Regions from separate parts of the Homo sapiens genome. Here all the other regions are linked to region 6. The links are contacts of gene promoters, found by promoter capture Hi-C in blood cells and fetal thymus (Javierre and others, 2016). All regions are on one chromosome and are shown on one strand. Each heading gives the region's core, a stretch centred on a gene start or on the middle of the fragment in contact. The rest is flanking DNA. Distances are from core to core; before and after follow the strand shown.

Region 1 (3,289 bases), core at 469-2,968, 180 kb after region 6:
TCTATGTGTCACTTTTTTTCTCTCTGTAAGTACTACTTGACCACATGGTTAGGTGGAGTTCTTTGAGCCTTTACTGGTTTAGGTTTTTTTTTTTTTTCTTTTGAGATGGCGTTTCACTCTTGTTGCCCAGGCTGGAGTGCAATGGTGTGATCTTGGCTCACTGCAACCTCTGCCTCCCAGGTTCAAGCCATTCTCCTGCCTCAGCCTCCTGAGTAGCTGGGATTACAGGTGTGTGCCTCCACGCCCAGCTAATTTTTTTGTATTTTTAGTAGAAATGGGGTTTCATCATATTAGCCAGGGTGGTCTTGAACTCCTGACCTCAGGTGATCTGCCTGCCTCAGCCTCCCAAAGTGCTGGGATTACAGGTGTGAGCCACCACGCCCAGCCGAGTCTTTACTAGTTTAGCATGCTGCTGAATTCATGAATTGCTTATTTTTTCAAATAAGCTCTGCTAAATTTGTCTAAAGCTTTTCCTTTTTCTTTTTCTTTTTCTTTTTTTTTTTTTTTTTTTGAGACAGTCTCGCTCTTGGCCCCCACGCTGGAGTGTAATGGCGTGATCTCGGTTCACTGCAACCACCACCTCCCAGCTTCAAGCAATTCTCCTGCCTTAGCCTCCTGAGTAGCTTGGACTACAGGCGCCCACCACCATGCCTGACTAATTTTTGTATTTTTAGTAGAGATGGGGTTTCACCATGTAGGCCAGGCTGGTCTTGAACTCCTGACCTCAGGTGATCCACCCACCTCGGCCTCCCAAAGTGCTGGGATAACAGGCGTGAGCCACCGTGCCCGGCCTAAAGCTTTTCTTTTAACAGATTGGTGTCAGAAGTGGGATCGGAAGTAGAACTCCAGTGACCCTCAGGAGCATTTAGTGACCAAGTAAGGGTACCTGACAGGGCACACTGTGCCAATTGTTCTCTTGTAGCAACTGGAGGTCATGGGTGAGTTCTATCTCAGATTCCAAGCTTCAGGAATTTGTGTTTTGTGTTCTCCAAGTTTATTTGAACAATTCTTAGACTGGGTCAAGTAGGACTGGGTCCAGGAGCAAATCAGATCTGATAATTAACTGAAATGGATCCAGTTAAAAGCCTCAGGCAGGTGCCTTTTGAAAGTGAGTTCCTCCAAATCTAAGGAGTCTGGGACTCCAGAGTCTGAGACGCCACTTTCTGGGACGGTGGCTAACTTCATGAACAACAATTATGAGGAACATGTGTATTTTTGGAAAAATGGGTTAACTTTGCTGAGGACAACTTAAGAGTTACAGTGGCCACAGTGGGAAAGTTTTGACCTAGATAAAACTGTTCACTTGCAAGGTGCATTAGAAAAGAAAGGTTCAAAAATGCCACAAAAGCAATGGGATGCATTCTTTAATTGATACACAGAGGCATCTAAAAGATTAAATGAATAAAAAATTGCCTCTTTATAATAGGTTCCTTACAGAAATCAAACAAAAAAATCTTAAAAGCTCCTTCACGAATCTTATTCAAAAGCTTTAGTCATCTGGGCAAGAAATCTTGTTCCATTGGCCAGAAGAACAATTTGGATCCAGATAGTCTTTAATAAATTCAGGAGTTTTATATTACTGTACCTGGAACATGGCTAAGATATTTAAATGAAAGCTGTAAGATCTGTTGCTGTTTATGTTTATATAAGTCTGTATGTATGATACAGGTATCATAGTTTCTTATCTCCTTTTAATGCTCCAAAATTAAATTATGAAAGAGCTCTATTTTGTTGGCTTTAAGAAAAATAAGTGCTTGTATAAATGAAGTATTCTCTCAGAAAATTAAGAACTACCTCAAATACTTTTGCAGCTCATCTGACTTGGGTAATCTTTGGCAAATAAGAATATTGTTGGTTTGACTGAAACAGACATGTTTTCATAGTTTTGGGGATTAAATATCATAAAGATGCATGATTTCCTATCTAGGTTTACTGGTAAAACAAGCTTATGTTGTCTTTATATTATAAAATTTGTCAGCAAGAAAAACAAAATGATGACTAGTTGTTTATTATCTCATCTTTATAGGCAATCCAAGCATAAGTGTTGAAAATAAGTGAGTTAAATGAATGTAAGATAAAATTCCCATGTAAAAGATGTCCTTCCTATACCAGAAGGTTTTATTATTACTTTTTTGAAATAGGGTCTCTATCGCCTACTCTGGAGTGCAAGTGGCAAGATCTCGGCTCACTGCAACCTCTGCCTCCTGGGCTCAAGCAATCCTCCCGCCTCAGCCCCGCCAAAGTATCTGGGACTACAGACACAAGCTACCACATCCAGCTAATTTTTGTATTTTTTGTAGAGATGGGGTTTCACCATGTTGCCCAGGCTGGTCTCGAAATCCTGAGGTCAAGTGTTCCACCTGCCTCAGCCTCCCAAAGTGCTAGGATTACAGGCGTGAGCCACCACGCTCAGCCACCAGAAGGTTTTAACACTCTTAGCATCAAGAATAGAAAGTTGAGGAGGAGGGAAATCTGTACAAACAACAATTTAGTTTTCAGGCCTCACAAAACAAACAAACAAAAAACCTAAAGGGATACAAATGAAATTTTGCCTCCTTTACAGTTTATTTTTACAGAGAGACTTAAAGACATTTTGGACCATTGAGAAACATGTTCTGTGCCACACTGACAAATTGTACTATGAGAAAGCTCATGCTTCTAGACATTATGGTTCATAGATTTACCAATCTACAGCTGGTGTGACACACAATTCACAAATGCTTACTTTCTAATGTCCATGGAAATTAAGGTCACTAAGGGTTAAGAATTCTTTTTTTTTTTTTTTTTTTCTGAGATGGAGTCTCGCGCTGTCACCCAGGCTGGAGTGCAGTGGCTCAATCTTGACTCACTGCAACCTCCACCTCCTGGGTTCAGGTAATTCTCCTGCCTGAGCCTCCCCAGTAGCTGGGATTACAGGTGCCCGCCACCACGCCCAGCCAATTTTTGTATTTTTAATAGAGACAGGGTTTCAGCATGTCAGCCAGGCCGGTCTTGAACTTCTGCCCTCAAGTGATCTGCCTACCTCGGACTCCAAAGTGCTGGGATTACAGGCATGAGCCACTGTACCTGGCCGGGGTTAAGAATTCTAATTAATATATGTAGCTACAATTACTAGAAACAATAAGGGGGAAAATCTATATGAAAATATACAAGGAAGGTAAGAAAAAGGAATATATGAAAAAGAAATATACAAAGGAAGCTAAGGAAAAGCTATAAGACGTGAGGATGTTTTGTTTTGATAACGGAAAAAGAGAATAAATTTTGTCCTAAAGTGAAATGACTGATTTTT
Region 2 (2,945 bases), core at 95-2,594, 180 kb before region 6:
TGGACATGGCAGGGCTGGCAGCGGTGCTACTTTGAGGGCATGAAACACACCGTTGGCTATGGAGCATGCTTATTTTAGGGCCAGCAGCCGGGTACTCCAGCCTGCCGGACACTTCAGTCCAGCCCCCTCCTGACTGGGGCTTGTTACTCACAAGATTGCATTGTCCCGGACACTAACTTGGGTCCAGGGCCCCTCCCCCTAGCACTTACCTGGAGTTTGTGCATGTTTCCTGCTGCTGGGTGGGTTCAGAAGGTGATTTCTTTTTTATGTGTACATATGCTAAATAAATGTGATTTAAAAAACAAAACAAAAAAGTTTGAACAAACTTTTGTACCTTCCACCAGATCAGGAAGAGAGAATGTACTTCCATCTTGAGAAGTGTAATCTCATTATTGGAAGAAATTAGTCTCATTTTGGTATCATTTTACATGGGAAGGCTGTTTAGTGGTAGGAAGAAAATAGTTAGATCTCATCTTTTTTTTTTTGAGATGCAGTCTTGCTCTGTCGCCTAGGCTGGATGCAGTGGTGCTATCTCAGCTCACTGCAACCTTCACCCCACTCCCACCCCCACCCCCTCCCCCGGGTTCAAGCGATTCTCTCACCTCAGCCTCCCAAGTAGCTGGGACTGCAGGCACACACTGGGCTACTTTTTGTATTTTTAGTAGAGATGGGGTTTTACCATGTTGGCCAGACTGGTCTTGAACTTTGAACTCCTGAGCACCAGTGATCCGCCTGCCTCAGCCTCCCAAAGTGCTGGGAGATTAGATATCATCTTAATCAGGATTATCCAAAATACATTGATGCTCAAGAATGTCAGACAGGAGCTACTGCCTTTCTTTTCATTTCTTCCATAAAGTTGATCCTTTAATTAATTAATGACTATAAAAATACAAGCCATTTATTGATCTCTGTTAAGCATTGTGCAGTCAGTACTCTGTAGCGGTTAAAAGCATAGACCCTAGAGTAAGACTGCATGGGTTCAAATCCTGTCTTGGATTTGAATCTTAGGTATGTTTTCTCATTTATAAAACAGCTTTGTGTTAATACCTCAGATGGTTGTGAGGATTAAATGAATCAATATATGATAAATCATTGCAAAATGCCCCATTCAATAAATGTTAAGTAATATTGTTTTCATCATGATTTTATATAATTTGATCCTAATTACAACCTTATGAGGTAGATCTTTTTATCCTTATTTTATAAATAAAGAGACTTAGAACTTGTTCAAAGTAGCTTGTCCCAGATTACCAAGCTAGCAAGAGGTGGACTTGGGATTCAAATCCAGAACCCTCTGTCTCTCTCTCTCTCTCTCTCTCTCTCTCTCTCAGACAGGTTCTCATTCTGTCGCCACTCTTCTTCCTGGATCCTACATCACCCTGCTTCTTGATTTATGCCTTTGTTTTGACAGAGCATATCCTTACTAGCTTTCTGGGTAAAGGGTGCACAACTCTATCACTTCTTAGCTCTCTCTTATGCTGTTTGTCTTCAGGTATCTAAAATAACATGTTCGTCCTGCCCCTCCTTCATCCCTCCCTTTTTCAGCTGAGATTCTGTGAGAAAATGTAGTCCTAATGCCCTAAGGCATCTCTTGTATATAATGAATTAGCTATGCTCCTGTGCGTCTAGAATAGGATTCTAGGTATGTACTTACCTTGGGAGAATGGAAAAAATACTCACTTAAATCCTTTTCTGTATTTTGTAGATCAAATACGGAACCCTGGTTGAAAAAGGCTGTGATGCTAGCTGTTGGCTTTCTGTAGTAGATGAGGATATAATGCCTAAACCACCATCCTTTCATCCTCCTAATATTATATATTTCAAATTCTGTTAGTTAAATTCATTATTTATATCAGTATGACTATATAAAATTAATCTGTAATTCTACTTAGCCACAGAATACAGTATAATTACATTTCATTTATTTTTTTATTTTTTTCCCTCCTCCGAGACGGAGTCTCGCTTTGTCGCCCAGGCTGGAGTGCAGTGGTGTGATCTCGGCTCACTGCAACCTCTGCCTCTCAGGTTCAAGCAATTCTCCTGCCTCAGCATCCTAATTGGGATTACAGGCGTGAGCCACCATGCCTGGCTAATTTTTGTATTTTTAGTAGAGACGGGGTTTCACCATGTTGGTCAGGCTGGTCTCAAACTCCCGACCTCATGATCCACCCGCCTTGGCCTCCCAGTGCTGGGATTACAGGCGTGAGCCACTGCTACGGCCCATTTCATTTCTTTTACAACTTTTTGTTCTTCTGAAATTAATAAAGCCTTGGGTTATTTTGTTTCTTTTCCTTATGTTTCTGTGGACCTGTTACTAAATCACTGGCAGACACTATGCAATTCATAAATGTAAAAGTCCCCAATATGACCAAACACAAAACCTGCCTGTTTCCTAGGGCTTACTCTCCTGCAGCCTCCTATTCCCATTCTCCAATTGAGACTGCTGTCATATTTGTTCTGGTTCTGGAATATGCCCTCACTATCATCCCTGGAATTCTTTTCACCTTTCTCCTCTGTTGTATCTTTTGTTTCCTGGATGCCACATCATCCTGCTTCTTGATTTATGCCTTTGTTTTGACGGAACATATCCTTACTAGGTTTCCTGGCAAAGGGTGCATGACAAGTAAATTTTTTTTTTTTGAGCACTATGAACTTGAATGTTACAAATTTCCTAAGAAGACATACTTGATAGTTTGGCTAGATAAAGAACTATATGGGTTGGGAGATTTTTTTTCCATCAGAATTGCAAAGACATTACTTCATTTTCATGCTGAGTTCAGGGTGTTGTTATTTGAGTTCTTGCTCATTTTTATATACTTTCTGAAATCTTTTAAGATTGTCACTTTCTTGATTTTTTAAAAATTAATGATACTGTGCTTGGTGTAGGTGTCTTTTTTGTATCTTCTTATATGAAGTAAGTCTTTTCATCTGAACATTCCTATCTT
Region 3 (3,050 bases), core at 215-2,714, 210 kb before region 6:
ATAATTATATGGAACATTTAGAAAGAACAAAACTTCATCAGCTCTCAGGGAGTGATCAACTAGAATCCACAGCTCATAGTAGAATTAGGTAAGCTTTGTTATATATTTTGCCTTGAGAAAAAGTAAAATAAATAATATGTTTGTTTCTGTTTTTCTCTGTTCTTTAATCCTGGAACAATAGTTAGGCTGATTCAAAAAGCTCTCCACTGTGGTTGGAATGCTGCAGGAGAGAATAGCACAGAAAAGTAGAAACGGTTTTTACCATTAAAAAGATAAATTATGAGCCATCCATATAAGCAGCACATTGAGTATTTAGATTGTTTTCTGATACTTGATGGAGATTATACTAGGTTTAAAATTTTGTAATTTATGGGAATGCTGAAATATTTTATTTCTCCCGTGTAATTGGTTTGAAGTCCTTTTTGTTACAGAGAGGCATGTTTGAAAGGGTTAGCTAGCCATCTGTTTGGTGTAGGAGTGTGAATAAATTATGTAGATCTTCAGGCATTGTAGCCAATGAGCTAAGCCAGGACTCTTAGTGGAGGGGAAAATAGTTAATAGGCTGGCTGTCGCTTGGGGTTGCTGCATAAATGCTAGGAGCAGCAGCTCTATGGTTATGAGGTGGGGAGAACGGAATGACGTCATCGCTTGGGAGCTGCTGCAGGATGGAGTGGAAAGCTGCTGCTGATGGCATTGTTTTTGTGGCAGCAAGCTGAATGACAGATCCTCACTACAAAGATACCCCTTTGGCCCCCGTGTAGGCCTCCTTGGTTCGGGTGTTTCACCATGCCAGCACAGCGCCATGAGTCCTGGATGCATGCTGCTGTTTGTGTTTGGCTTTGTTGGCGGGGCGGTGGTCATTAATTCTGCTATCTTAGTATCTCTCTCTGTTTTGCTGCTTGTGCACTTTTCTATTTCTACCGGTGTGCCAGCTCTGACGCAGAACCTACCAAGGATACTCAGGTACTCCCATCTCTCTTAGAAGCCCCTGCTTAGCTGGTTTTTATTAAATTTTTAGCTCAACGGGTCTGCTTTGTAACAATTTCTGTTGCAGATTGAAACAATGGAAAATGGCCTGAAGCTAGGATTTTTGATTCTAATTTATAGTAATTTATAGACCATCAGTTAGGATTATAGCTTTATGTTTGGAAACCACTAACTAAAGAAAAGGATTTTCATATTGTACTTACACACAAGTACAAGGTCAGTGTGGTCTTGTTTTAAGCAGAATGTTCAAAGTAAAAGAAGAGCAAGAGTAGAGCACCGGCTCCAAGTTTATACAACCTCTGCATTTAGCTTCTGAGCATTTAGGGACAAATATCTTTTATGCTTGGACTTGCAGTCAGTTAGATACAGGCCGTAAGCTTATTTTGTTTTAATTATCCTTTGAATGATAGAGTTTCAGGTATCATTTTTGTAATTTTTGATAATAGCTCATGGGAACTGACAATTTAAATATTTTCCTCCTAAAACAAAATATGTTTTAAAGTGAAAAAATTTAAGACTTTTAGGTTAAGGAATGCCTTTTTCCCCATTATTTACACATCAAAGTTGTGAAAGCTTTACAAAGCCTATTCACTATTGTTTTGTCAGATGTTGCCCTTTCTTTTCTTTGTAGTCTTGGGTGACAAATATCCATGCCTGCTTGTGGGGGTAGTCATTAATCTCTGTAGCTTTACTGTTGCTCACTCTACTTACACCCTGTAAGAGCCATCTTCTGTATTTTAGAGGCTTAAGGTTGTGGTTTCTTTTGTTTTCTAAACCGTCAGACTAGCAGTCTCTGATTTGTTCAGATTTCTGCTTTGTGCATGGTTTTAAATGAAAGTTCATAGTATATAGTTTTTATTTATTATTTAAATGTTTATAAAATATTTAAACCCTAATTGTAGATTTAGATAAATTAAGAAGAATTAAAGTAGTAACTTCCCTTAATGTGTTTCTTTTTATTCATAGGTCAGTTCAAGTTTAATATTAGTTGAAAGCCCAGAAATTAAATTTCATCAATGACTTAAAACTAGATACTTGGTCTTTTATTTTCTTTCCTGATTTATAAAAATTGGGAATAATCTTACTACTTGTATATATATTAGTACATAAAATATTTGTGTACGTGTATCTGTATATTTAGGCTTTGAAGAAATTAAAAGCAACTGAACTTAAGAATATGTAGAATATTAATATAAGACTAATGTTAAGGGGATGTCTTGGGTTTAGGCTTCATTTGAGAGGGCAGTGCCGTGAGCTGCTGTGCGGCGCCTGCAAGTGGGTACAACAAGGCTTTGGAATTGAACTGCCTGGGTGCAAATGCTCTATTGCACGTGGCCGTAGGAGCTTTGGCAAGTTGCTTAATCTCTCTGCCTGAGTTTTCTCTCCTGATGGGACTTACCCCGTTGGGTGGTTTTAAAAATCAAGTGATTTTATTATTTTGTATTTAATTATAGTTGTAAGATATATGGTAAATTACTTGAGTAAATAATTTTCAGTTACTTATATGTGTCCATTTTTAGCAGAAATTGTTTTAGCTACAGCTAAAATACCTTATAATTAAAATTTTAAAGTTCTTTACCACAAAAATTGCTACTGATCTGATTAAATAAAGATATCAAAGTCTTTGATATTAAGATTAAATTGTCAAAAAGTTGGTAGTTCCAAGTAGGAAGTTCCAAGGAAAGCAAAGGGCTTGGAATTGAACAGTACTGGCTTTGAATCGAAACTCTGCCAATTACTAGTGCCTAAAATCTCTGAGCATCACTTTTCCTACTCTGAAAAATTGGAAAAATAATCCCTGTTTCTTGATAAGGATTAAATGCGATAATGTAAATAAGTCATCTAGCTCAGTACCCACCACGTGGTGAGTGTTCAACAAATGTACTTTTTCTTTTATCTGCCTTTATATATAAAGCAGATTTTACTAATTAGTTGTATCAAATGTGAATATAGCCAAAAAGCTGTTCCAAAAATGTAGTTGTAAAATTATTTATATACATAAGCTAACATTTAATAACCAACTCAAAAATGGATATATGGAAGTAGGGCAATTAAGAAAAAAG
Region 4 (3,092 bases), core at 129-2,628, 250 kb before region 6:
AGAGTAAGCTAAAATGACTTCTCTCTTTTTTAAAAAAATAGTATATATGGCCGGGCACGGTGGCTCACGCCTGTAATCCAGCACTTTGGGAGGCTAAGGCAGGTGGATCACCTGAGGTCAGGAGTTCGAGACCAGCCTGGCCAACATGGTGAAACCTTGTCTCTACTAAAAATACAAAAAATTAGCTGGGCATGGTGGTGGGTGCCTGTAATCCCAGCCACTCGTGAGGCTGAGGCAGGGAGAATTGCTTGAATCTGGTAGGCAGAGGTTGCAGGGAGCCAAGATCATGCCACTGCACTCCAGCCTGGGTCACAGAGCGAGACTCCATATCAAAAAAAAGAAAGTGTGTGTGTGTATGTGTATATATATATATATATATATATATATATATATATATATATATAAAATAAAGTGTATATATATACATATAATAAGTAGATATACACATATATATTATAATTATATATATATAATTTTATTTCAATATTTTTTGGGGAACAGGTAGTTTTTGGTTACATGGATAAGTTCTTTAGTGGTGATTTCCGAGATTTCGGTGCACCTGTCGACTTCTTTTTTGTTTGTTTGTTTTTTTGTTTTTTTGAGACAGAGTTTCACTCTTGTTGCCCAGGCTGGAGTGCAATGGCACAGTCTCACCTCAGTGCAACCTCTACCTCTTGGGTTCAAGTGATTCTCCTGCCTCAGCCTTCCAAGTAGCTGGGATTACAGGTGCCCACCACCAGGCTCAGCTAATTTTTGTATTTTTAGTAGAGACAGGGCTTTACCATGTTGGCTAGGCTGGTCTCGAACTCCTGACCTCAGGTGGTCCACCTGCCTCGGCCTCCCAAAGTGCTAGGATTACAGGCATGAGCCACCGTGCCTGGCCCAACTTCTGTTTTTTTTTTGTGTGTGTGTGTTTTGTTTTGTTTTGTTTTTGAGACAGAATCTCCCTCTGTTGCTCAAGCTGGAGTGCAGTGGCGCAATCTCGCTCACCGCAACCCCTGCCTACCAGGTTCAAGTGATTCTCCTGCCTCAGCCTTCCGAGTAGCTGGGACTACAGGCGGGTGCCACCTCGCCTGGCTAATTTTAGTATTTTTAGTAGATGCGGGGTTGCACCATGTTGGCCAGAGTGGTCTCCATCTCTTGACCACATGACCCACCTGCCTCGGCCTCCCAAAGTGCTGGGATTACAGGCGTGAGCAACTGTGCCCACCTCCCATTTTTTTTTTTGAGACGGAGTCTCACTGTGTTGCCCAGGCTGGAGTGCAGTGGCACGATCTCGGCTCACTGCAAGCTCTGCCGACCAAGTTCATGCCATTCTCCTACCTCAGCCTCCTGAGTAGCTGGGACTACAGGCGCCCGCCACCAAGTCCGCCTAATTTTTTTTGTATTTTTAGTAGAGACGAGGTTTCACCGTGTTAGCCAGGTTGGTCTCGATCTCCTGATCTCGTGATCTGCCCACCTTGGCCTCCCAAAGTACTGAGATTACAGGTGTGAGCCACTGTGTCCAGCCTTGACTTCCCTTTTTTAAAGCAGATTTAGTCACTTCTTCCTCTCTGCTTTCATTATAGCACTTAGCGTGTTACACTGTAAATGTTTATGATACGTCTTTGATGGCTCTCATACAGTGAGTACTCCTATTGGATGGGTGGGCAAAGAGTTTTAGTTTTATATTTAACATGTTATTTTATCTAAGAATAAGTCCTATGAATGACATTACCTAGTTTGTAGTAAATATCATCATGCTGCCTAACTGCCTAGCATTTGGAGAATAGGCATTGTGAATAGGTGTGTGGCTTAACTATTACAACAGCTTTTTCCTAGTCTCTTAACTATGACAAGTTTTTCTTTGACTACAGAGTGACGGACTGGGATGTTTCCTATTTTTGTTATCTCAGTTAGTGTGTTAAGTGGAAATTATAGAAGTAGAAGGCAGACATGTTTCTTTGAAGTAAATCAAGAAGACTTTAAAAAGAGGGTCAGGGCCAGGCATGGTCGCTCATGCCTATAATCCCAGCACTTTGGGAGGCTGAGGCAGGAGGATCGCTTGAGCTCAGGAATTCGAGACCAGGCTGGGCAACATGGTGAGACCTTGTCTCTACTAAAAATAAGAAATAAAAAAAATTTAGCTGGGTATAGTGGCACATGCCTGTAGTCCCAGCTACTCAGAAGGCTGAGGTGGGAGGATCGCTTGAGCCCAGGAAGTCGAGGCTGCAGTGAGCCATGATTGTACCACTTCACTTCCAGCCTGGATGACAGAACAACACCTCATCTCTAAAAAATAAGTAAATGAAAATTAAAAATTAAATTAAACAATAAAGAAGGTCAGCCATGCTTGTACTATACAAACCTAGTAATGAGGTTCAGCAGAACTCATGTGCTACCAGCCCAACTAAGATCTCTGAATGTAGAAGGGAAGCAGAAAGCCCTGAGAACTTTCTTTTTAGTGTAACCCATGCCACTCATTGCCCAAGTATTTTGTTGATAGTATGAAAAGGTTAGGTATAGAGACAAAGAAACTATTCTCATTACTTCCCTTATGCTATACCTCCAGCCTTCATCCAGGAAAAAAGAGGACTCTTACTAGGACCACGAATCCAAACCTTTTTCTGCCAAGAGCTGTATTTTGGCATCTGTTTGAATTTCATGACACCGTCTCTGTTTCTATTCCTGTTTTCTCATTCATAAATTCTTATATCAATGTTTCCCACTTTCACATGATTGCTAATTGCTATATAGAGCTATGCCATTTCTGAAGTATTTTTGTAATTATGAGTGTTCTGCTTTCTGAGCTATTCTACCCTACAGCAACTTCTGTTTATGAGGTTACCTATATTGTCAGGGATATTTCTCAAAACAGTGGCCCAAAACTAGACTATTTGATGGATATTTTTCTTGGATAGCAATTTAGAAACTTCCAGTCACTTGTTACTTTTTCTTGATTCTTGATTATTCTTTGAAAGTTAGTATTACATTTATCCTACTCAGCTTTCAGTGCCCTGTGTAAGCTATTAGGGATGTCTTATCAGAACTGAGGAACTTTTATTTTTGTTGCATATTAGTGATTAGCATTTTATTTTTTATTTTATTATTTT
Region 5 (3,107 bases), core at 184-2,683, 160 kb before region 6:
GAATGATATGTCATTTTCTTGTCATTATAGAGTGATATTCCCACAGCCCAGAGGAAACGGTTTACTAGAGTAGAAATGGCCCGTGTTCTCATGGAGCGAAACCAGTATAAAGAGAGATTGATGGAGCTTCAGGAAGCTGTTCGATGGACAGAGATGATTCGGTTTGTATGACAAGCGCTCCATTATTTTCCTACTATTATTTTGTAGGTTTGAATATTCCTTCATGTGGAACTTAAGTCCTGCCCTGTAAGATCCAAGCCCCTTTCTCTGTTTACTAGGAGAGACTTTTTAAAGTAACACTCAGAATTAGCAACAGAATGTGATCAAAGGAGGTGCTTTTTGGGCCAGTAAGGGATCTTGGAGGATGTTACTACGACCTCTAAAAGGCAATTATTATTACTTAGGAATGATGGTCATTTTTCAAATATAGAAATCAATACTACTTACCCAGTAATGTCAGGAAAAGATCACAATTTCATATGCAACACAGGAAAATAAATTATTTTGACTCAGTGTCTTTCTGTAAAATACTCTTGCTTGATTTCTTTCTCTCTTTTCTAACTGTTCATGCCAAGTACACCCTTCCATTGGTATCTTTCAGTCAGATGGCTCTTAAATCTCACCCAATGCTGCCATCTAATGGTTGTAGTCTCAGTAATAGTGTTTCTTTAATTTAGAAAGAACTGAAAAGTTTGTAAATGAGCTGCCCCCTAATTTACCCATATTTTTGAGTTTGGATTGTCATATCAGATTTACCAATAATAGTATGCATTGACATGTTGTTTTTAAGTTTATGAACACATTCTCTAATTGCCAACTTTTACTTCTTTAGGATTACATCATTTATTTCACAGTTTATGTACCCTTTACCAATGTTATATTAGAATCAAGTGTTTTAACATATCATTTTACAATTTGCTGTGATAGTAATTGCTTATAACTGCCCATAAGGAAGATCAGTATTCTAATCTATATTTATTAGACAAGGAAACTAACCCACTAGAAAGTGTATGTTCTTAACTGCAGTATTTAGTGGATATCGAATAAATAATAAGTAAATATTCAAAAAACTGAAAGTGGACCTTATTTATTTATTTATTTATTTATTTATTTATTTATTCATTCATTTATTGAGATGGAGTCTTGTGATGGAGTCTTGCTCTGTGCCCAGGCTGGAGTGCAGAAGTGTGATCTCGGCTCACTGCAACCTCCACCCCCTGGGTTCAAGCAGTTCTGCCTCATCCTCCCTGGTAGCTGGGTTTCCAGGTGTGCGCTACCATGCCCAGCTAATTTTTGTATTTTTTAGTAGAGACAGGGTTTCACCATGTTGGTCAGGCTGGTCTCGAACTTTTGACCTCAAGTGATCCGCCCGCCTCGGCCTCCCAAAGTGCTGGGATTACAGGTGTGAGCCACTGTGCCCAACTGGACTTCACTTTCCATTGCTGTTTTTAACTCTAGCAGCCAAGTGGTAGTCAACAAATTAAAGGAAATAGTAGCTTACTTTTAACTACTTCACTGAAGTAAAGAATGTTTTTAATTTAGTTCATAACAAAAAAGTAGTGAAAAGAGAGCTCTGATTATGATGGCAGAATCCCTACCACCTCATAAATCAATTTGGAATATCTTATTTTCTGAAATTTTGTTGAATCACCTGTCAATCCAGTTTATCCTCTTCCCTGCTGTGGTCATCTTTCCAGTGATGGAAAAGTTTTAGTCTTGTGAAAAATGACCCCTCAGGATGCCAAAGTTTCAAGCTATTTTGTGAGAGCTCCGAGTATAGATGATAGAGACTTTTATGTAAAGATGGGAATTTACAAGGCAATATTTTAATAAAAGGGAAAGTTAGAGGGTATCTTTTCAATAAAAAATTTTAAATATCATTCAGGCATGTTGGCTGTCTAGCACATATTACAGTCCTCTGTCGGTAGACTAAGCTCTTTGAGGGAGGGATGATATTTTATTTTTCTTAGTAGAATTAAAGTCAATCTTTAGCAGATTGACTGACACATGGTAGGTCAAAGTAACTACAGTATTTATTGAACTTAATTGTTGACTCCCCTCTGTGTATCCCATGAACTTCTTGGGTCTCTTGTTCTTCAGAAAGAAAGGTAGAATACCTCACTGATAAATGTTTCTTTTCTTTTCTTTTTGAATGTAGGGCATCACGAGAAAATCCAGCCATGCAGGAAAAAAAAAGGTCAAGCATTTGGCAGTTGTAAGTATTGAAAAACAAAGATGTTAGACAGCACATGAGACAAGAAAATTACAGTCAAAATTTATTTCCAAGAATGATTTTATGTCCATTTTCTTTCCTTCATTTTTTTTTTTTAAACTAGGGGTAATGGTTAAGTAGCTAAACTGAACTTTTTTTTTTTTTTTAATATATAGTGTGCCAACTCGGTAAGGCTCTTCTCAAGGACAAAAAATATGATATCGTAAGCTGCATCATGTTGACTGTGCATTTGTTGCAATCCTCTGCCAAATTTAAATAATGGGGAATTATTTAGAGACTTGAAAATGACCTGGATCCCCATTAAATAAGTTTCTGATTGGCTGGTTTTGTGATTGTAAGAAACTTTACAAAGTGAAGATGAGAAATTTAGTGCTTGTAGGGTTTGAGTAATATTGTGTATGTATTGAGCTTGAGTTATGTTTGTGCTAGAAGTACTATGTGTTTACTGTGATTAAAACTTACCCTTTTTTGGTGAATCTGCTATTTAATGGAAGTGTCAATTAAAAAAGAAATAGACCCGAAAGTAGTTGTTTAAATTGAGCTTAATCAGAAAATGTATAAAATGTGTGTTAACATGGTAATATGTGTTCCAGTACTTGATTATAATAAGCTGTTTTTAGAACTGGCATACTAAGCTTCCATTCACATCACACAGCCATAACCTTGCGGTTTAACAATCGCTCTTACCTTGCACCAAGTAGGAGCTAGCAAAAAAACCAAAATATATTTATTCAGTAGGAGAAGTTTCCTCTATTTAAGAGCTTCTTGCTTTCATTATACAAATTGCTAGTTAAAGAACAGGCACCCGCCATTCTAAGCAATAGTTTCTCTTCACTGAATGTCTGAGTTTGGCTACGAGTTACTGCTAAGGCTA
Region 6 (3,429 bases), core at 110-2,609:
TGCCCTGTTTCTCTCCAGGTGAACGGGGCCTGTGTTCCTTCACCTTCCTAGGACCTGCAGGGCACTCCTGCATGGTCCCCACCCTGTGGCTCCCACCCCCATCACTCACAGGCTCATATGGTCCATCTCTGGCTTCTGGACCCCACTCACCTGGTCCGCCTCACACTCCAGCTTCTGGATCCCACTCACCTGGTCCATCTCACACTGTGGCTTCTGGACCCCACTCACCTGGTCCACCTCATACTCCCACTTCTAGATCCCACTCACCTGGTCCGCCTCACACTCCAGCTTCTGGATCCCACTCACCTGGTCCATCTCACACTGTGGCTTCTGGACCCCACTCACCTGGTCCACCTCATACTCCCACTTCTAGATCCCACTCACCTGGTCCGCCTCACACTCCAGCTTCTGGATCCCACTCACCTGGTCCATCTCACACTGTGGCTTCTGGACCCCACTCACCTGGTCCGCCTCACACACCGGCTTCTGGACCCCACTCACCTGGTCAACCTCACACTCCCACTTCTAGATACCACTCACCTGGTCCATCTCACATTGCGGCTTCTGGACCCCATTCACCTGGTCTGCCTCACACTGTGGCTTCTGGATCCCACTCACCTGGTCCATCTCACACTCCTGCTTCCGGACACCACTCACCTGGTCCGCCTCACACTGTGGCTTCTGGACCCCACTCACGTTGTCCTCCTCACACTCCCACACAGTCCCTCCCCGACGGCTCCCACCCCCGTCACTCACAGGCTCACGTGGTCCATCTCTGGTCTCTGGACCCCACTCACCTGGTCCGTCTCACACTCCCGCCTGCAGGTGCTCTGTGCGTCCACCCAGAGGTTGGGATTCATGTCGTTGGGGCAGATGCCGGCGTGGGAATAGCGGATGGGCGGCAGCGCCAGGCTTCGCGGGGGCACCCCGAGCAGTAGCAGCAGCAGCAGCAGCGCTGCCACCTGCTCCCAGCGAGACCAGAACCGGCGACACCTTGGGGCCCACATGGTGCAGGCTGGGGCGGCTAGAGACCTCCCCTGAAACGATGCCAGGGTCTGGGGCCCACCAGGGCCTTCTTCTCAGGGGCTGCAGACACCTGCCCTCCCCACCCCAGCAGGTTTCCTGCTCAGGCTGCTGCTCAGGCTGCTCTGCCGCTGCTGCCTCCACCAAGTCAGCACAGCCTGCCGGGCTGTGCGGCTTCAGATAAAAGAAAGGTCTTTAGAAGGAAGCTCCCTCTCCTGAGTGTGCAGGGAGAGGAGCCACAGCAGGGGCCCGCGCCCGGATTTATATCCTGGGCGCGCCACCCGAGTGGGAGCCAGCTAACCTGATGCCTGTCACAGGCAGGCTGCTGGCGCCTCTGTCCCGTGGCTGATCACAGACTTATTGCAGAAGGGGGGAAAAAAAAAAAAAGAAGCTGGAAGCAGTTTAGGCAGCGTATCTGGCACGGTGGGACACCTGCTTGTTTTTGACTCCAGGAGGCCTTTAACCCCTTCAAGGGCCAGAAATGGCATGTGCTTTGCGGGGAGCTGGCTCCAGGACACGCAAGCTCACTCTGAAGGAGGGCTTGTTTCCCTTTCCCCCACCTCCTTGGGGCCGGGCCCCCTCCTCCCCTTTGGCCACCTCTAAAGAACACACAATCGCTTGTTACGAGGAGGGACCTGCAGCCACCGGGTTAGCATCGCCCGGCTTGATAGTACATTTGAGAGCAAATGACGTGGAAAAACAACAAGTTCACGGCCATTCCAGGGCGGGCCTGCGCCGCGCTGTGCCCTGTAAGCCGACTCCCACCCCGGCCCCGGCCCTTTGTGGGGGGTGTGCGCACGGACAGCTCTGTATCTCTGTGTCCAGGGCAGTTTGCGTCTTAAGTTCCAACTTCAGTTAATTTTCCCCAAATCATTCCAGAGACACATACCAGATATGCTCTGGCCCCGCCGGCGGCTGGGACGGATCACATTCCTCCCTCTTCCATCGACACACCGAGAAAACCTCCGCGGTCACAGTGTCTCAGGATTGTGCCGGAGTCCAGCTGCCCTCGCTGACGACCACAGTGGCTGCTCTTCAGTGAGCTCCTTCTGACTGCCAGCCTTGTCTGGCCTCCCCCACTTCCCAAAGGAGAAGGTCTGTGGTCGAAGAGGGCGAGCGACTTGTCCAAGGTCGCACAGAGTGAGCAGTCCTGGTGGTACCAGCTGCCAGATGCACTGGGCTCTTCACACGTGTGGCTTCTCTGAACGCATCATCTCATTTAATCCTCACAACAAACTGCACCTCCATTTCAGATCGGAGGAAAGGACGCACAGAGAGGCTAAGCAACCTGCCCATGTCGCACAGCTACCCCACCACGGTACAGGAAACAGGGACACCAGCTTGCTGGGTGTGGGCAGGGGCCTTTTAAAATCACCCCTCCCCCATCCATCTGCCAGAACTGCTGTCAAGGCACAGCCCAAACTCTGGTTTTCACAGACTGGACAAGAAATTTTTGAAACATCAGGGGCTATATTTGTGGAGGGGCCGGGAAGAGAGCCAGAAGCTGCCAGGGGCTGGGGGCGATTCCTCCCCCATTTGGCAGCAAATGGCTTCTATCTAAAATGCCACAGAGCAGCCTGCAGTCTGAGTGTTTTCGAGTTGGTCACTCGATCCTGGGGGTAGGGGGCGGAGGCACATAGAGCCCCGAAAGAGAGGTACCTTTCCAAGGCCAAACCACAAGGGCCTTGAGGAGCTGCTGTGTCCCGGGGACAGTAGGTGGAGTGGCCCCCACACGCATCAGATACGGAAGGGATCCTGAAGGTAATCTCGCTTTACAGCTAAGGAAACTGAGGCCTGAGCCCAGGCCGCTCCTTCCCCACGTCCACTTTCCCCTTCAAGAACACAGCTCGCCATCTCACAGGACTGTAAAACGGCCACGGGACCCTCGCTTCCACACCCAGACCCTTCCCCTTCCCAGCCGGGCGGGTGCTGCCTTCTCCCCGCCTGAGCTGGTCCCTTCCCGTTGTGCGGCCATTCTGCAGGATCTGTCTTTTCTGCTTATGTCAAATCGCTAATGAAGGGTGTCAGATCCTAATCCTCTAAATTATTGGAATAAACTTCCCTTCGAGGCCAGTCCCCGTAATGAAGCCAGACAGCGGGCGACGCCGGCTGCTTTGAATTCCCCGTAATTTCATCAGCCCGTGTTCCAGCTGCTCCGCGCGGGGGCCTTCACACAGCCCTTGGACAAACGCGGTTTGCGCAGCCTCCTTTGATAGCACAAAGGGACATGGACAGTGACACATTTATAAGCAGGACTTAGAAAAACTGTCACAGCCCCATTAGGCCAGGACAAGTATCCAAGGAGAGGAGGCCGATTTCTGGGCAGTCCCAAGAGACCATTAGAGGGTGTGGGAGAGATGAGAGGGGGTCGGAGGAGGGGAGGCACCGAGCAGAGGTTGGGGGGTG
Region 7 (3,246 bases), core at 243-2,742, 230 kb before region 6:
CTTTTTCCCATATATATTATATTTTTATATCATTGTGGTTAGGATGTATATTTAATTTTGTATCTTTTCCTTAACATTATCATAAGTATTTTTCCTTGTTGTATAATCTTCATTATTATTTTTATGTCCACATAAATCCACCATCCAGAAGCTATGCCATCTATTAACAATTTTTGTTTTCCCTGAGGACTATGCTTTATTTTTTCCTCTAATGAGAATTATTTAATGGCCACTGTGTTTTTTACCATGGCAGCCCAGAAACAGAACAAACGTTGAAATGCAACCATAACAACTAGTTTGAACCTTACCTGGTTGGCATATTTAAATTGTTTTTTTTCTTGATCCACGTTTTATACATGTATAATTAATATATTATGCTCTATTGTAAACTGTCTCAAATCCTTTGTGGAATGAAGAGGTGAATCAGGGTAAAATAAATGTAAGAAATTTAAAATAAAAAAACCAAAAACTTCTGTTGGTTGGTTGGTCATTTTTTCTGGTATACTGAATCATATTGCAGTAAATATTTTTTTACATCTACAAGTTTTCCCTTCTATTGGTAGTTTTCTTAGAATATATTTAAGGAAGTAGGTCAAAGAATTTTAGTGCTTTTTGGCATATAATAGTTTGGCCATTTCTAATGTCAATAGAATTGGAGAAGTAAGGGTTAGTAGTAAATTCCATTTTGCTTGTCATAACTTATGAATTTGAAGCATTATTTACAGCATATTAGCACACAGAGCTGATATAGAATCATTTATTATTTGATTCTCTCTTAGGAAGCTTCTGTTGCCCTCAGGCTCCTTGGATTTACAACTTATTCTTCCCTGAGTATAGAGCCATTGCCTTTTGTGGAGAAGATGAAAAGATTTAGATGACAGTGATATTTTTTTTTTAGTGAGTACTTCTTAATTTGGTGGCTATGTTTTTTGGGGAGTACAGGTTTTTTTTTTGTTTTTTTTTTTAAGAGATGAGGGTCTAATTCCTGTGTTTAAGTGATCCTCCCACCTCAGCCCTCCCGTGAGGGAGCCCACCTCAGGTGCATGCCACTGCACCCGTGGCTGTGATTTTAAGCTGTTATATTTAGACTCTTCTTTAATTCCGCCCTTCCTTCCTTTAAATGAAAATTCGTCTTTTTGAATTAAATGGAAAAATGTTGTTGGCACTGAAGTCAAATGTGTTAGATCCTTATACTTTGACCTTTCTACCTTTTTTGTCCCCCATGTAACATTCCTTTGCTTTTTACATCTTGTGTCAGGATCTTAGTCTAGTAAAATACCTGCAAGCCTTCACTTTGAAACATTATTATTAGAAGGAAAACACTTCTTATTTCTTGGTCATAAGAATAAGCACTCCACTAGATAGAAAGTTGGGGGAGATATTAACATAAACAATAACATAATTTTTATTTTAAAGGAATGTTTAAATTTTATTTAATTAATTAAATTTATTTAAAGGAATTAAATAAGGCTTAAAACAGACCTTCAACACAAGGTGATTGATAAATTAAGAATTTTCACAGCACATAAACCATTTTAAAGTTGCCAAGTATCATTTCATATCAAAGTTAATATTTGAGAGAGCCTAAATATTTTCTGTCGCTGTTTTTCAAATCACCTAAAAAAATACATTCAGGCTTGTACAAAACTTTATCAGATCCTTTACTGTGCTTTGTGATTAGCAATGAATGTTAGTATTTTGAAAAAATTAAATAATACTGTAATAGGACACTTTTTCCACTTTAGTTCTATGTCAATAGGCAATTCCTTCTACATAATTTTAAGAATGATAAAAGTAGATTACGAAGATTTATATATATATATTTTAATGATGATATGTGTTTTTGTTGAAAGTTTTTTTAATGAGGCAGCTTTAGGAGTTTGAATTATATCTTTTGGTTTTAAAAGAATGACAAGTTAATTATTTAGAAAGCTACTTTTAGTCTGTTTAATCAGAATCTAGTTCTTTGCAATACTAAGAATATCTATATATTTAATAAACAATATATATCAGCTGTTTCTTATTTAGAGCCTACATATGAGTGGGAAAGTAGAAAATTAGGCACAAGATAGTTTTTGCAAACACTAACATTACTTCTGCTTCATTAGGTAATACTTGTGGTCTTTAGCTGTTTTATGTTTTATTATCTGTATTTGGGCTCTTTCATTTTTGAGTCTAGTGTTGTCTATTGAGAAGCTTAAAGTTGTAATTTATAATTAATATCTAGAACTAAAGGTATCAGAAAATTAAGTTTATGAGTAAAAGTTAAAGGATTTCTGGTGATTTGCTTAGAGAACAGGGAAAATACGAATAATTTGATTATTCTTTCAAACATATAAAGGGATGGATAAGGAGTGTAGCAAGCTGTTTGTCTGTTATTTTGGAAGATTAAGTGAGAGAAAATGAATTTTTTGGCTTTGGTTGGTCATGAGGAAGTATTTCTTGGCCATGAGGGTGATACACAGGAATATGTGCAGAGGTTAAGCGTGGACTGTCCCTACGTAGAGACTTTAGGTAGGAGAATCATCAGCTTTGTTGTGGATGGCTTAAGTAACATCTTCAAGACAGGGAACTGTCAGATCACTAGAAGTTTCTACCGCTGGGATTCTTTGAAGTTATCCTACTCTGTTTTGAGAATATGATCATTGATTCATGATAGCTTTAAAATATGTATAATTTCACATTGTGTCATTGATTAATAACATATAATATCTGAAAATTTTTTGAAGTTGAGAGACATGGTAAAGGACTTAGTTGGTGAGGAGAGGTTGTTATTACTGTTTTGATGTGGTTGTCTGAGATTTCTTTGCTCTTAAGTCAGCCTTGCTTACCTGTTGGGACTTCTGATGCTAAATTGTTCAAGGAGAAGTTTCTGAAAGACCACATGTCAATCTTCTGAGGCCCAGCAACAGTTGGACTATCTGCCTTCCAGGAACAGTAAAAACTGATGATTCCTTTTGAGAAGGCAAATAATGAGTTGGATATGGCATTCTAGCAGGTCTGTTTCTCTTTCTTCCCCCCGTAGGCCTATCAGCAGTCTGATGGGGCAGAAGACAACAGAGATGGAAGGTGTTCCAAACTTGGCAAAGGCCATCAATCTCAGGAGGTAAGCTCTGATTTTGAGCCGGCAGAGCAGGTGGCTCTTCCTGCCTTAATCTTATCCTCTTGCTTTTTGGAAAGACGGATAGAAAGAGCGCTCAAAATGAGGCTGAAGTATCTCCATCATTATTCTAAAGGGGAAATTTT

What was found. The method cuts DNA at HindIII sites, captures the fragments that hold promoters and counts their contacts. A CHiCAGO score of 5 or more calls a contact.
Region 1: a fragment that was not itself captured here is called in contact with the fragment with the promoter of WFIKKN2 in region 6 in 3 of 17 cell types (naive CD4 T cells, fetal thymus and activated CD4 T cells); the score reaches 6.0 in naive CD4 T cells.
Region 2: a fragment that was not itself captured here is called in contact with the fragment with the promoter of WFIKKN2 in region 6 in 2 of 17 cell types (total CD8 T cells and neutrophils); the score reaches 7.1 in total CD8 T cells.
Region 3: a contact is called between a fragment that was not itself captured here and the fragment with the promoter of WFIKKN2 in region 6, in 1 of 17 cell types (naive CD8 T cells). The highest score is 6.0, in naive CD8 T cells.
Region 4: a fragment that was not itself captured here is called in contact with the fragment with the promoter of WFIKKN2 in region 6 in 3 of 17 cell types (naive CD8 T cells, total CD8 T cells and activated CD4 T cells); the score reaches 6.4 in naive CD8 T cells.
Region 5: a fragment that was not itself captured here is called in contact with the fragment with the promoter of WFIKKN2 in region 6 in 4 of 17 cell types (non-activated CD4 T cells, total CD8 T cells, total CD4 T cells and 1 more); the score reaches 5.7 in non-activated CD4 T cells.
Region 7: a contact is called between a fragment that was not itself captured here and the fragment with the promoter of WFIKKN2 in region 6, in 5 of 17 cell types (activated CD4 T cells, total CD8 T cells, naive CD8 T cells and 2 more). The highest score is 8.2, in activated CD4 T cells.

Annotation. Positions count from the first base shown.
Region 1 is chr17:50,650,567-50,653,855 of GRCh38, reverse strand. All of the region lies in intron 1 of ABCC3 (ATP binding cassette subfamily C member 3), which reads right to left. Among named protein-coding and RNA genes, the nearest start is that of ABCC3, 17 kb to the right of the region's middle. The HindIII fragment of the contact is 458 bases long and covers 1,490-1,947 here.
Region 2 is chr17:51,015,904-51,018,848 of GRCh38, reverse strand. The region is part of intron 8 of SPAG9 (sperm associated antigen 9); the gene reads left to right. Among named protein-coding and RNA genes, the nearest start is that of SPAG9, 100 kb to the left of the region's middle. The HindIII fragment of the contact is 6,365 bases long and covers 1-2,945 here.
Region 3 is chr17:51,044,413-51,047,462 of GRCh38, reverse strand. SPAG9 (sperm associated antigen 9) reads left to right here. Exons shown (of 30, transcript NM_001130528.3): 4 at 1-88. Among named protein-coding and RNA genes, the nearest start is that of SPAG9, 75 kb to the left of the region's middle. The HindIII fragment of the contact is 196 bases long and covers 1,367-1,562 here.
Region 4 is chr17:51,086,933-51,090,024 of GRCh38, reverse strand. All of the region lies in intron 1 of SPAG9 (sperm associated antigen 9), which reads left to right. Among named protein-coding and RNA genes, the nearest start is that of SPAG9, 32 kb to the left of the region's middle. The HindIII fragment of the contact is 6,447 bases long and covers 1-3,092 here.
Region 5 is chr17:50,998,769-51,001,875 of GRCh38, reverse strand. It overlaps SPAG9 (sperm associated antigen 9), which reads left to right. Exons shown (of 30, transcript NM_001130528.3): 13 at 31-161; 14 at 2,159-2,215. Among named protein-coding and RNA genes, the nearest start is that of SPAG9, 120 kb to the left of the region's middle. The HindIII fragment of the contact is 2,874 bases long and covers 1-2,870 here.
Region 6 is chr17:50,833,516-50,836,944 of GRCh38, reverse strand. It overlaps WFIKKN2 (WAP, follistatin/kazal, immunoglobulin, kunitz and netrin domain containing 2), which reads right to left and starts at 1,359. Exons shown (of 2, transcript NM_175575.6): 1 at 798-1,359. The coding sequence starts at 1,007. The HindIII fragment of the contact is 3,752 bases long and covers 1-3,429 here.
Region 7 is chr17:51,067,792-51,071,037 of GRCh38, reverse strand. All of the region lies in intron 2 of SPAG9 (sperm associated antigen 9), which reads left to right. Among named protein-coding and RNA genes, the nearest start is that of SPAG9, 51 kb to the left of the region's middle. The HindIII fragment of the contact is 1,413 bases long and covers 786-2,198 here.